Regions from separate parts of the Homo sapiens genome. Here all the other regions are linked to region 1. Evidence: promoter capture Hi-C in human tissues and cell types (Jung and others, 2019). All regions are on one chromosome and are shown on one strand. Each heading gives the region's core, a stretch centred on a gene start or on the middle of the fragment in contact. The rest is flanking DNA. Distances are from core to core; before and after follow the strand shown.

Region 1 (4,400 bases), core at 1,517-4,016:
TTTAAACAACAATGTATTGGCACTGGGGTTCAGAGTGGGATAAGCTAGGAAACTAAAGGGATTTCAGGGGAAAGAATCACCCCAAATCATTTCTCCCTTCCATTTCTCTTAACAGAACGCTCTCTTCTGTGTCATACCCTAAAGTTAACCAAAAAATAATCTGGATACTCCACCTCTGCATAAAACACAGATCACAATCATTATCATACATTCTTCTTCGCATCTCAGATAAAACCTACCCCTTCTCCCAAGAGACTGGGATGCTTGGGAAAGAGAAGTAGGGAATCTTTGCAAACATAAAGGCAATGTGTCCTATCGGAGTAGAGCAGAGAGATAAGAGGAAACTTCTAGCCCAGGCCAAGGTCTACTGACTATGATCTTGGCAAAAACACAGAAACTTGTTGGCCAACTTTAAACGAAGCATCAAATCTGCCTCCTCCCTACTTCCCTTTGCCCAGGGAACTCAGTCTTCGGTGGAAGTGGTGTTCTAGGTCTTCTCACTGTCCTCCCTCCGTCCTGGACTGCATCTACAGTCAGTGGCAGGGCGATTCTGGCAGGCGCCACTGTTCTCTGTCCCTCCTTCCTTCCCCGTCTATGCAATCTGGGGCGCCTGGAGAACTGGGCTCCTGCGTGCCCCCTGGCCAGGGCACAGGACAGGCTGCAGACAGAGGCTTTGGAGCTCTGCAGGGGATTTTGCAGCCTGCCTAGCTTGTCGGATAAACCCATTTCCTTGACATTTCAGGGCAAACCTCTATTCGTCGTTTCTCCAGCGGGTGGGGGGGTGCCTAAACATTCTCACTGATCAAAGAAGCCAGAATCCATCTGAACCTCTGAAATAGTAGAACGTACCAAATGCCTAGGGGTAAAGAAGGGTGGAGGATTTCAATAAAAGAGGTGCTTCCAGTGTCGCCCCCTTTCCCGCTTTTTCGTTTACGGTGAGCGGGACATTTAAAGTATTTTGTGGTTTGTTGGTTTTTTAAAGTTTTTATTTATTGTGTGTATATAAATATATATATTTTTTTTTCTTGAAGGGAAGCAGGCAGAGGTGCCCATAGGCAGAGGGGCGCGTTGTCACCCCGGATGCTCCCTCCGGGCAGGCCCTCACGGCCAAGCAGGGGACCCCAGAGGGAGAGGGCGCGGCGCGGGGAACCCGCGGAGCGGCGGGGGGCTCCAGGCTGGTGGGAGACCGTGTGCGGCCGGAGCCTCCGCAGATGCCGCCCCTACCAGCCCGGCTCCCGCCTCCCCGCCCCCTGCCCGAGTCCCCGGACCTGCTCCCGCGCCTGGGGCTAGGGCAGGCTAGCCGTCCCCGGCAGCGGGGGTACCTCTCCAGCCCCTGCACTGCAACTGCGGGAGGAAACACTGCCCGCGGGCGGTGGGAGGGAAAAGGGGTCTCACGAAGTTCTGGGATAAAAACGGGCTGTCGTTGCAGATGCCTCTGTCACGCGAATCTCCGAGCGGAAATGCACTGTCCCCGTGCCGGGCTGGGGCACAGGCGGGATCGGAGCCGGGAAGAGGAGGCAAAGTGGCGGCGCAGCTCGGACAACTTTGCTGGGAAAGCAGGCGACAGCGGGCAGAGCTGGTGCCGCTGCCCCCCCCGGGGAGACGAGCCGGCAAGAGGCGCAGGGTCTGCACCCCAAATGCTGCCGTCACGGACCAGGAGGAGGACGGGGTGGCCGCTGGCGGGAGGAGCAGGCGGGGAGGGCGCCCAGCCCGGGAGTGCAGCCTGGCTCGGGAGAACCACCCTCCGTGTCCTCGGCCCCAGCAGGGGCGCCTGCGCCCGGGTGCGCGTCCCCCCAACGCCCCCTCGTCGTCCCGCGGGACCACCAACTACTCCGCGCCGCTGGAGGAGCCGCGGGAAGGAGAGGGGAGAGCAGGGAGCGCCGAGAAGCGGCCGCGAAGCCCGCCCGGACCCGCACGTACCTTGAGCTCCTCAATGTCCAGGTTCGTTGATCTGTCCATGGAGCGCAACTAAACGAAGTGGAGAGGAACCGGGCGAGTGGCACCCAAAAACAATCTAGTCTTTTAGTTTCCAGCTTAAACTCAGCTTTATCCTCCTCCAAGCCCCGGCAGCTCCTCTCAGTCTCATTCTCCGTGGTCACGCCGCCTCCACCGGGTTAAAAATAAGGAAAATAAATAAATAATAATGATAATTCACTTTATTTTACTTCCTCAAAGATTTAGTGACAGGTGATCTCTACCGCGGTGCAACACAGCTGAGTCGATTGAAACAGGGGCCAAAAGAAAAAAGGAAAAAAAAATCCACTCTATTTAAGATTATTTCTTCTTCTGCAATAAGCTTAGAACCCAGCGAATTGCTGCATCCCGAGAAAAAAAGCTGCTTCCCTGGTCAGCATCATGCGGCAAATTTCAAGCAAATGTGTTCAAACTGAAGAGAAGAGTGTATGATAAAAGGCTTCCTCCGTCAGGCTTACTCTGGTAGGTAATTTAGCTCCAGTCCCAGGCATTAGCAATGATCAGTTTCCCCGGCAAGATAACAGAATCCCCGAAGTCCTGCATAGACTTAAAAAATGTCTTGTAGCTGAGAGGTATTTTCTCAGTGGGGAAAAGAAGATAATCAAGTCAGAAGGGAACGTTCTCCTTTGAAGGTTATGCTAAAAGAGTTGAGGGAATAGGAGGTGGATCCAACGGAGAGAAAAAGAGGGAGAGAAAGAGAGAGGGAGAGAAAAATTTTCCTCCTGCTTCGCTGTTTTACTGGCCTTCACCACCAGGTGACTGACTTCGCTTCTCTCTTCCCACAGCCAACACTAAGGGGATTTCTCTCATCTGTCAAAAAGCAACATTTCCTCTCCAGACAAATACTATCGCTGGGTCTTAAAGCCTGCCCTGTGTCCGGAATCCACTAGGTGACAATCATTTTAATTCATTGCGTACATTGCTTCATCTTCCTGCAGATCTGGGAGGAACATGCTTGTGTGTATCACCCACATGTATTTAAATATACTCACTTCAGATCTCTGCTGCTTTCAGCATCAGATTTTTTAATTTAAAAAAGACTTTTATAGAAAGTGACAGATAAGAATATTAAAGGAAATTTCCTGGAACGATGCTTCTTATGATAAAGCAGTCTTTTATTAGAAAATTGTTCTTTACATAGATTCTGACAGGTCAGTGCATTTAACTTGTAGGTTGTAGATTTGGGGAAAGGGCTCGTTTTCTTCATTTAAATGTCTCAGTGTAAAACTTGACTTTTGAAGCGTTTTAAAGACTCTTGTTTTATTATGACACATAAACTATTGAGACTTAAAGATGTTTACAGATTTGGAAACAGAGCTGTATAAATACTTTTGTTTCAAAAAAAAAGTGTTTCTTTTTTTAGGATTTAATATGCACATTCCAGTCTCATGGTCTCTCTCTAACATCATCTCCGTCCTCTGCCTCCCTGAATTCCAGCCACCTAGTCTATTGGTCCACCTGCCAGTACTGGCTCTTTAATTCCCATTCTTGCCCCCTCGTTAAGGACAGCTGTCTCTCCCCCTAGTTCTTTATAGTTTTAACACTTCTGCTTCTGACTAAAGTCACCTGAGCAGAGAAAAATTTTTCTCAGGTGAGTCTGTCAGATATTCTCCTTTATCCTCTTGTCGTAGCAGCATTCTTAATTTACCATTATTTAATGTATGCTGTTATTATCCGTTTGTTTGTTTGACTCCTCCAATAGACTATAAACTCTTGAAGGCATGTTCTGGACGGTTCTTATTCACCAAATGTCCCAAGAGCCAAGCAGCTAATAAGCACACAAATGTGCATGGAACAGATAAATGTGTGGAAAGAAACCTTTACAGTTAATATTCTAATGTCTGAAACCCTGATGACTCCCCTCCTCCCCTCACCGGCACCAATGGAGCACATCCCAGTTTTTCTCCTTCTACTTTGCAGCTAAGCCTGGAGGGCTCAGCTTTCTCATGGAGGATGTCCATTTCATTAGTTTAAGCCTAGTCTATTCCATGCACTTGCCTAAGCTATCTTTCTTTCAAACTTTGACTTCTGACTACAGCTTTTAAGATTAACATCAAGTAGCCAAAAGTCCATAATGAGTAGGGCCAAACATCAGATTCTCAAAATAAACTTCATGTGCTTATAAGACATAATTATTTTGCATAATATATGATGAAAAATAATAAAGGTTCAGGCTGAGAGTAGATGAACTTATATAAGACTTTTAACTCTAAAAAAGAGCTTCTCTTCTAGAAAGTATCAACAATTCAACATGAACAAAGATAACTACTAGGATGATGCAAAAGTAATGGCAGTTTTTGCCACTGAAAGTAATGGCAGAAAACACAATAACTTTTGCACCAACCTAATACATAGGCTTTTGAAAGTCAAGTCTTTCCATATGAAAGAATTTGAAATTCCCTGTCAACTAGTCATTGCCTAACTTT
Region 2 (4,594 bases), core at 331-2,830, 47 kb before region 1:
TTGTCATTGATTTCCTTTGTTCCACAGTCTAAAAGCCTCACCTTGGTATTTCAGACCCATAATAACCTAGCTTCAACACATTATCTACCATTCTTTCTTGTCACTCTCCACCAAACCTCCTGTGTTATAGCCTACCTGATTTTCTCACCCAATTCTGCATATGCCAGGCACCTTCACAAACCCATGGTTTGATGTCTGCTTTACCTGAAATTCTCCTCTGTACACTCAAACCCTACTCTCACCACCATAACACCAACGGCAAAATCCTTGGCTCATTTAATTTTATATCCCTTATGGTAAAGCTTGTTATACCTTTAAGTAACCCTGATATCAGAGTGCCATCATCTGCGTAGAACAACCTATGTATATTATTTGTAAACAAATCAGGAAAGATGAAATGAAAGGATAATTCATTTCATTCATTCATTCATTCATTCATTCATTCATCTATTATGTATTTTGCACCTACCATGCAATAGGCTTGACACGGCTCAGAAAAGACAGTGGTTAAGACTCACTCTCAGCCCTCAAGTGACAGTCTAGTCAGAGAAATAGGCAAGTCAAAGATTAGAAATCAGACACTGTGGTGTACTTACAATAAAGCTTTCTTGAAAGAGTGGCCCAGAGACTTGTTTCACAAGTCAGAGTTCTTTCAGCACGAAAGAATGGTGCAAATCTACAGGTTGATATCATTCAGATGTTTTTCAGATAGTTTCAGAGCCTTCAAAGTTTTTACATAAATTCTTATTTAAAATTGTGTGGGGGGAGGTGTGCGTGTGTCGTGGGGGATGGGGTTAGGTTTGTCAGCAATCAAAAACTTGTTTTGGAGCCAAAAACTATCAACAAAGATTTGCAATTTTGTAAAAAGTCTTCTTTAGTAACTATAACACGATAAATAGTGTTTCCAAAACTGGTTTGTAGCAGCTAAATGACTACTCCTTCCCTAATTCAATCACAACTGGAAAAGGTATACAGTTAGTTCTTCTGAGTTTTAAGTGACTTAGAAATAATTAATTTCTTTTCTCAAGAGTGGACTATCTATGGATTCAGGTGTCCAATGACCTAATGTGATTCCAATCATTTTACTGTTATAAATCTTCTATTATAAAAATCAAGAATACAGTGTCAAAAAATAAAAACTCCCCAATATACTTTAATACAACAATAGTAACTCTAATTTAGATCAATTAAAAAGCTTAATAATTGTGCAGTGCATATAAAAAAATCTAAAAGGCTTTGTGTTTATTTGTTCTAGATTATTACTGCCATAATTTTCAACTAATAAATCACTAGGGTCTAAACTTAATTACATATATTGTTCAAGACTGAAAAATTCTAAATTTTCGCATGATCTAGTCTGTATTCAACGTATTTATTCTCAAAAGGAAAATTTTTTTATTCATTTCGTATTCACAAGCATACCTAGACCAGGCAGGTAAACTTGTAACAAATGATGTAGAAAATATATTTGACCAAGTTGAATGTCACCGCTTAAGGGATTTATACTGAACTATAAACTTAGGAATGTTAAATAGTATTTAACCCTGAAAACAATTTAAGATTTTAAAGGTTTTAAAGAAAACCTTATTATTTTAAACCCATCATGTTAGATCTCAAATTCTCCTTAAATAACATATCTCCACTAATTCATCATTGTTTTTGAAAATATTTCAGTCATCATTATATGAAAGTATGTGATGAGAAATACATAGAGAAAACAGACAATAAGGAATATAAAAATAACTAACATTTAGGAAATTCCTCATACGAGCTTCAGCTGTAGAGATAAAGCATGTACAAATAATATGCTAGGAATAGAAGCAGTTGAAAAAATACTGATATATTTCAGAAAAGTGAGTGAAGTCTTTGTTTAAACTTCAACTCAGTCCTACCTATTTAATTATACAAAATGACTCTAAAATATTAAAGGTAAAACAACCCAGAAGAAAAATATTAAACTTTTATCTACCCACGCTTAAGGGCTCAGATTGCTGGATTTGAGATTTAGCTCTCATTATACAACCCTGGGCCAAACTAAATCTCAGTTTTCTCACCTGTAAAAATTGCATAAAAGTAGTACCTACATCAAGGGAATGTGGTGAAGATTAAATGAGTTAATATTTAGCACTTCATAATTAGAGCTACTATTATATTCCCAGTGTTTTTACTTCTGTTATGGTAACCCCTCCCCCAGTAATGGGAATATTCTTACACCAAAATACTATTGGCTTTTGTGCTATTTCTTTATTCATGTAAAATTTTGTTCCTGAATCCCCCTCCCTGTGTAGATAGTTGCCCTGGTGACATTCTTTTATTCCTTTCAACAGCCCAAATCCCTGAAGATGATGTAAACACAGCTTTAGCTACTTCGGAACATTGTTTTGATGAGTAATGTGGGAAGAAATTTTAAGTACGCATACAAATTTTTCTTAAAATACACCTGAATTTTAAAATCAGCTTCCAAAATGCTGAAATATAACAGTTTGTTTCGTTTTAGTACATCAAAGATGCTACAAAAAATTTTTGAAAAAAGAAACACATCAATCCATTTAAATATTTTCTAGTCATTGTAACTGAGCATCAGTTGAAAATACTCATTCTTTATGCTCTTCTACAACTTTGAAATTTGGATTTCCAATTCTTTGGTATTTGGAGGGACAGCCACTAACGACTAATCCAAAGTCTCTTTCTGGTTTACTGGCATCAATGCCAAACTCATCAACAGATCCCATATGCCATGCATAAAACAAACCACCTTCACAACCATCAAGTTCTATGATAAGTTGTACAACTCCTAAAATTACCATTTCCACTGAAGTCTTCTGCCCCATTGCCATTAATCTGAGAGAGAATTTTGAGCTGCTTTGAGAAAATTCTGTTGAGTTGTGCATTCTTGTGGTTTCTCACTCCAAGAAAACAAAAGCAGCCTAACCAGTTTTGTTTTATTTTAGATATACAGAGAAAAAAGGAACATTTAAAAAAATATATTGGACTAAGGATTCCCAAAGACAGAGATTCATACCAAATATCATTTTAAAGTGACATCACAAATGACACACTTTACCCATTTAGTGGAGATTATTTAATGACCACTACTGAAGTTTTACCACTTATAATTGGTGAATACTGGTAGTGGAGGTGGAAATGAGGGTATAGTTGTCTGGAATTTAAATCACGTAGGTAAGCACCATAGAAACACATGACCGGAAAGGCTAACATCCTTTGAGCAAGTCTCCTGATTCTAATAGTTTAATGTATTATTTCTCTTAATTTTTCAATGTGACGATGATAATAGCATTCACCAAAGACATTTGGTAGAAGACTATAATTATCAAAAATATGGAAAGTTGCTTGAATATATCACTGAATATAATCTTAGGCTAGCCAAGAATTCTAAAGCATTTAGGTACAAAACATTCATGAGGACATCGTTATAACTGTCACACGTTGAATTATTGACAAATTTGGACTATTTATTTTAATATCCTTTGAGTATTTTCTATGTGTTAATCACTGTTTTAAGCAATTCATTTAATCCTTGTAAAACTCTATACAGTAGGTACTGTCAAATGGTACTTTGGAGATGAAAAATATTGAAAACCACCACCAGCAACAAAACCTGACACATAAAGGAGTGAAATAAATGACCAATGCCCACAACCAAGAGATGGTAGAATAAAGAATTTCAACTCAGTTAGTCATATTTCTGGTGCCCGTATTTCTAAGCATTGTTCTCTTACAACTGCAATTTCTTACAATTCTCTGTAATCCTATTTCTGGCTGAAATATTAGTAGCTACTGTTGAGTTGTAACAAATGTACAGAATACTTCAATATATGAAAATATAATTTTTCATGGGTGGTACCATTAGGCTTTACGTAATCAATAATTTAGCCAAAGCAGAGAATCACAAACCACGTTCTACTTATTTTTTACATTTATAACCAGGGACCTCATTTTGAGGCAAAATACGAGCAATTGCCTTCAAATCACTACATCTCAAACATGTTCTTATCTTAATATTCTAGCAGCTAAAAGCTGGGCAAATTCTCAGTGGCATTCTTCTACTCTATAACTAGCCAGTGTAACTTGTTAGAGTATATGTTTTCTGAGTTGACCCTTATGGAAAAACATTTTTTCTTAATAGAGTTTAAGACAAAACATAGAGTTATTTATCTTTAAATAAATATAGTTTACAAGTAGTTTTAGTACTTCTTATCCAATGGGCTACTCACCTGAAATAGTCCTCGTGTCCCACCTCTAATCACACACACACACACACACACACACACACACACACACACACACCACAACCCTCCCTTTGGTATAACTCATGGAGACTGAAGTCAGCCCTAATAGTAAAACATTCTGTAAAAGGTTGTGCCTATGTAAGTTTATTCATGGTGGGCACCAAAACCCTATATTAAAGGTCAGGTAGATACAAACTTCAAACAAACATTGTTCTATAACTTGTGTGGTAGGTACAATAATATTCCCCCATACACACATGCCATGATGCCTATGTCTTAATCCCGAAAACGCATGAATATGTCACCTTACCTTGCAAAAGGGACTTTGCAGATGTCATTAAACT
Region 3 (4,503 bases), core at 998-3,497, 58 kb after region 1:
ACTCACCTCAAATAATGAATGATCAAGTTATCTGACAGCTTGTGAACACATTTCAAGTGAGATTATGACAACTTACCTACAATAATGCCAACAATTTTGAAATTATTCTTCGGAGTCATTTTATTTTCCATGTATTTTAAATTAACTCATTGGTTCTCAAAACGTTCTATTCATAAGAGTTTGCAATATTTTCTTGGAGTATTGCCAAAAGTCTTTGTGCTAATCAGTAGTATATGAAGCCAAAAACAGCAAAAATAAAAAAAATTAACCATTAAATAAGCTTGTACAGCAATTTTGCTCAACATATCCATCTTAGAGGTTTGTAATCTACATCAGCATTTACTTTAATTTTATTTTTTAATTAACACAGAAAACACATTTTTGGTACAAGTCTATGAATTTTAACTAACGTATGGAGTCTTATAACCACCATCCCATCCCAGTCAAGACACACATTAATTCCTTGACACTCTAAAAACCACGTTGATTTAATCAATTTACATTTCAACAACAATCTTCTAAAGTAGATGCTGTATCACCCGCATTTTACAACTGGAAAAACAGAGGTACCAAGAAGTTTAGGTCACTGTCCCGAGGCGAAACAGCTCAGAAGTGAACAAGATGGGATTTGACCCAAGAAGTTTTGCTCCAGGGCCTTCTCTCCTAGCCCCTATGCTTAAAAACAAATGCTCCCTACACCTCCAAAGCCTGGAAACCTGGTATCTTCTCTATTACTACAATTTCATATTTTCCAGAACACCATATAAATGAAGTTGTATAGAATCATATAGTATGTAACCTTCAGAAACTGGCTTTTTTTCACTCAGTATAAAGACTTTGAGATTCACCCATGCTGCTGTGTGCTTTAATAGTTTATTATTTTTATTGCTGATTCCATGGTATGGGCATACCATAATTTGTTTTTCTGTTTACCCACTGGGGGACATTTATATCATTTTCAGTTCAAAGATCATAGAGTAAACTGGTATAAACATTAACAGATAGATTTTGTGTGCATGTAACTTTTCATTTTTCTAGGACAAATATGTAGGAATTGGATTTCTAGGTAATAGGGTAAGTGTGGGTTTAATGTTAGGTAAACCGCAAACTGTTTTCTAGAGTGGCTGTGTCACATTTCATTCCCACCACCAACATACGATAATTCCAGTTTCATCCCCTCTTTGCTAGCTCTTCATATTGCGAGTTGCATTTTTATTTCAAAGTTTATTTTTTATTTTAAATTTAAAATGGCTAAAATATAAACTACTCGCAATATGAAGAGCTGGTAGCTTGGTAAACTCACAAATCACTTACCAGACCTGATTATATCTAGAAGATTCTTTTTGCTTTTTTGGAATATTCTGATAGGTGAGTAGTGGAATTTCATGATGATTTTAATTTTCATTTCCCAATTGTCTAGAGATGCTGAACATCTTTCTGTGTGCTTATTTGCCTTCTGTATATCCTCTTTGTTCATTTTAAAAATCATTGTTTTCTTGTGAACTTTAAGTATTCTTTATATAATCTGAACATAAATGCTTTGTCAGATAAACTGCAAATATTTTGTGCCAGACTAGTTTCTCTTATTTTATCTTTTATGGAGCAAAGTTTTTCGTTTCCATGAAGTCCAATTTATCAAGATTTTATGTAATGGATTTTGATTTTGTTGTCACATGTAAGTATTCTGAGACCTGTTCTTAGGTTATAAAAATTTTCTCCTATTCTACTAGAATATTTATATTTTTTTACATTTAAATCTATAATCTTTTCTGAAATAATTATTGTATAAAATGTGATGAATGTCAAGATTTATTTATTTATTTTGCTCAAAGCCATCAATTTGTTTGAGCACCATTTGTTGAAAAGATTACCTTTTCTCCATTGAATTACTTTTGCACAGTTGTCAAAAATCAATTGACCATGTCTGTATGAGTCTATGCCTGAAATATCTATTGTAATTAATTTATCTAAGTGTCAATCCCTTTACCAATACCCAAGACTCTTAATTATTGGAGCTTTCAAAATTTTTCTGACTATTCTGCTTCCTTTCCCACATCAAGTTTATAACAAGCTTGTCCACATCTATAAAAATTATTGTGGGAATTTTGATTGGAATTACCATAAATCTCTAGACCTAATTCAATAAAATTGACATTTTTTTCTAATTTGAGTCTTTGAATGCCTGAGCAGTCTCTCTCTCTACTTATTAGAAGTTTTCATTGATCTATTTTTCAGCAGTGTATTATAGTTCTTAATATAAGGATCCTGTACATGTTTTATTATGTTTATACCTAAGTATGTTGCTTGGGAAGAGTTCCTGTAACTGACACTTTTTTAAAATATCAGTTTCCAGTTGTTTCTTGTTATACTATATAAGTAAAATTTCTATCGTGTGATAATCTTGTATCTTGTGACCTTGGTAAACTCACAACTTACTTACTTGGTCCAATTATATCTAGGAGGGTTTTTTTTCTTTTTTAGTATATTCCTTGGGATTTTCTACAGACAATAATATAATTTGTACATAAAGAAAGTTTTATTTCTTCCATTCCTGTCTGTAGAATTTTCATTTCTCTTGCCTTATTGAACTCGCCAGTGTTTATAATAATATTGTGAAATGGAGTAGTGAGAATGGTGGACATCATTGTTTCATTCCTGATGTTAGGAGGAAAGAACTCATTGTTTCATAATTAAGAATAGTGCCAACTATAGGTATTCTTATAGATAACTTTTATCAGGCTGAGAAAATTCCTTCTAGTTCTAGTTTGCTCAGAGTTTTACACATTTTATTAAAATGCCTTTTCCACATCAATTGATTTGATCTTTTTTTAGACAGTTAATGTGATGGAGTTCATTGACTGATTTTCAGTTGTTGAACCAGTATTGCATATCCATAACAAACTGCACTTACTTCTGATACAGCCTTCTTTTTATGTTGCTGAATTTTATTTCAAAATATTTTGTTGAGTATTTTTACATCTATTTTCATGAGATATATTGGCCTGAAGTTTTCTTGTATTGTCTTTATATGCTTTTATCAGAGAACTGCTAGCCTTATAAAATAAATTAGAATGTGCTCTTTTCTCTTCTATGTTCTGAAAGAAATTGAGTGGAATTGATGCTATTTCTCATTTAAATATCCAGTAGATTTCACTAGTGAAACTATCTAGCCAGATGCTTTACTTTTGAGGATGTTTTCAAACTATGAATTCAATTTATTTAATAGTAATAGAACTATACAAGTTTTCTATTTAGTCTTAGGTAAGTTTTGAGAATTTACAGTTTCTGAGAAATTAGAGCTATGCGTATGCAACTCGGGGTGAGCACAATAAACAACTTTACTGAGTCACTTTTTTGAGCTCCATAATGTCCCTGGTACATTTGTTCCCCTTTATAGCCTTGGGCCAAAAACTGGAGCTTTATTTCTCTTCTTCTGCTGTATACTTTCCTGAAATGCACTCATGTCTGCAGCCAAGGGGCAGAGGACAGAAAAGGAGAGAAAGAAGTAGAGTTTTATTCCCAACGTCCTTGTATTAGTCAGGTCCCACATTGCTATAAAGAAGTACCTGAGATTGGGTAATTTATTTAAAGAAGTTTAATTGGATCACTGTTCTGCAGGCTGTACAGGAAGCATGATGCCAGCATCTGCTCAGCTTTTGGGGAGGCTGCAGGAAAACTTACCATCATAGGAAAAAGGGAGGAAGGCATCTCACATGGAGGGAGCAGGAGCAAGAATTGTGGGGTGCCACACACTTTTAAACAACCAGACCTCACGAGACCTCACTCACTATGCCGAGGAAAGTACCAAAGGAGAAATCTGCCCCCATGCTCCAGTCATCCCCCGCCAGCTCCACCTCCAACATGGGGGATAATATTTCTACATGAGATTTGGGCAGGGACGACACACAAACTATATCACTTATACCGCAGCTCCCCAGAAAGAGCCACAGCTCGTCTGAAAGGATATTAGATGTCTTCATGTCTCTGCTGCCATCGCTGTTGTGGGGACCCGTTTCCCATTCCTTGAATGTAAACCAGAGAGCTTGTCCTGGAACTCTCTGTCCATGCAGAAGTCTACTTGTGGGTTTCAGATGAGTGGGGTACAGGCCAGTAGACATAATAGAGGGAAACACAGTACACTACAGCCTTTCTAGTGGTATTTTGATTCTGATTTTTTAAAAATTCATTTGCTACTATCTACTTTTTTTAAGAGCTGCTCTGTGCATTCTGCCCTAGTTCTGTAACTACATTCAGTAGGAGAAACAGGGAGTGGGAGGAGTATGCTTACTCTGTCTTACCGAGAATCGCACTACCCTCATTAGCATTTTTCAATTCTACAAGGTCCTGCAAAAGACTTCTTTAACTGTGTTAACCTCTATGTTTTTCAGAACCCAATTTTTACCTAATATTTACTAACAGCTTGTGGAACCATTATTCCTTGAAAATGCATTTTCAAAAGCACTGTTCTAAAATAAAACTAACATTTAATAAAATTTTTGAACT

What was found. The method cuts DNA at HindIII sites, captures the fragments that hold promoters and counts their contacts. A contact is called where the count stands out against the background at its distance.
Region 2: a fragment that was not itself captured here is called in contact with the fragment with the promoter of SGCZ in region 1 in 3 of the 25 tissues and cell types used here (adrenal gland, hippocampus and spleen).
Region 3: a contact is called between a fragment that was not itself captured here and the fragment with the promoter of SGCZ in region 1, in 3 of the 25 tissues and cell types used here (IMR-90 fibroblasts, bladder and small bowel).

Annotation. Positions count from the first base shown.
Region 1 is chr8:15,235,665-15,240,064 of GRCh38, forward strand. SGCZ (sarcoglycan zeta) reads right to left here and starts at 2,767. Exons shown (of 8, transcript NM_139167.4): 1 at 1,921-2,767. The coding sequence starts at 1,959. The HindIII fragment of the contact is 17,338 bases long and covers 660-4,400 here.
Region 2 is chr8:15,189,921-15,194,514 of GRCh38, forward strand. All of the region lies in intron 1 of SGCZ (sarcoglycan zeta), which reads right to left. Among named protein-coding and RNA genes, the nearest start is that of SGCZ, 46 kb to the right of the region's middle. The HindIII fragment of the contact is 4,527 bases long and covers 1-3,844 here.
Region 3 is chr8:15,294,477-15,298,979 of GRCh38, forward strand. No RefSeq gene overlaps it. Among named protein-coding and RNA genes, the nearest start is that of SGCZ, 58 kb to the left of the region's middle. The HindIII fragment of the contact is 5,853 bases long and covers 1-4,503 here.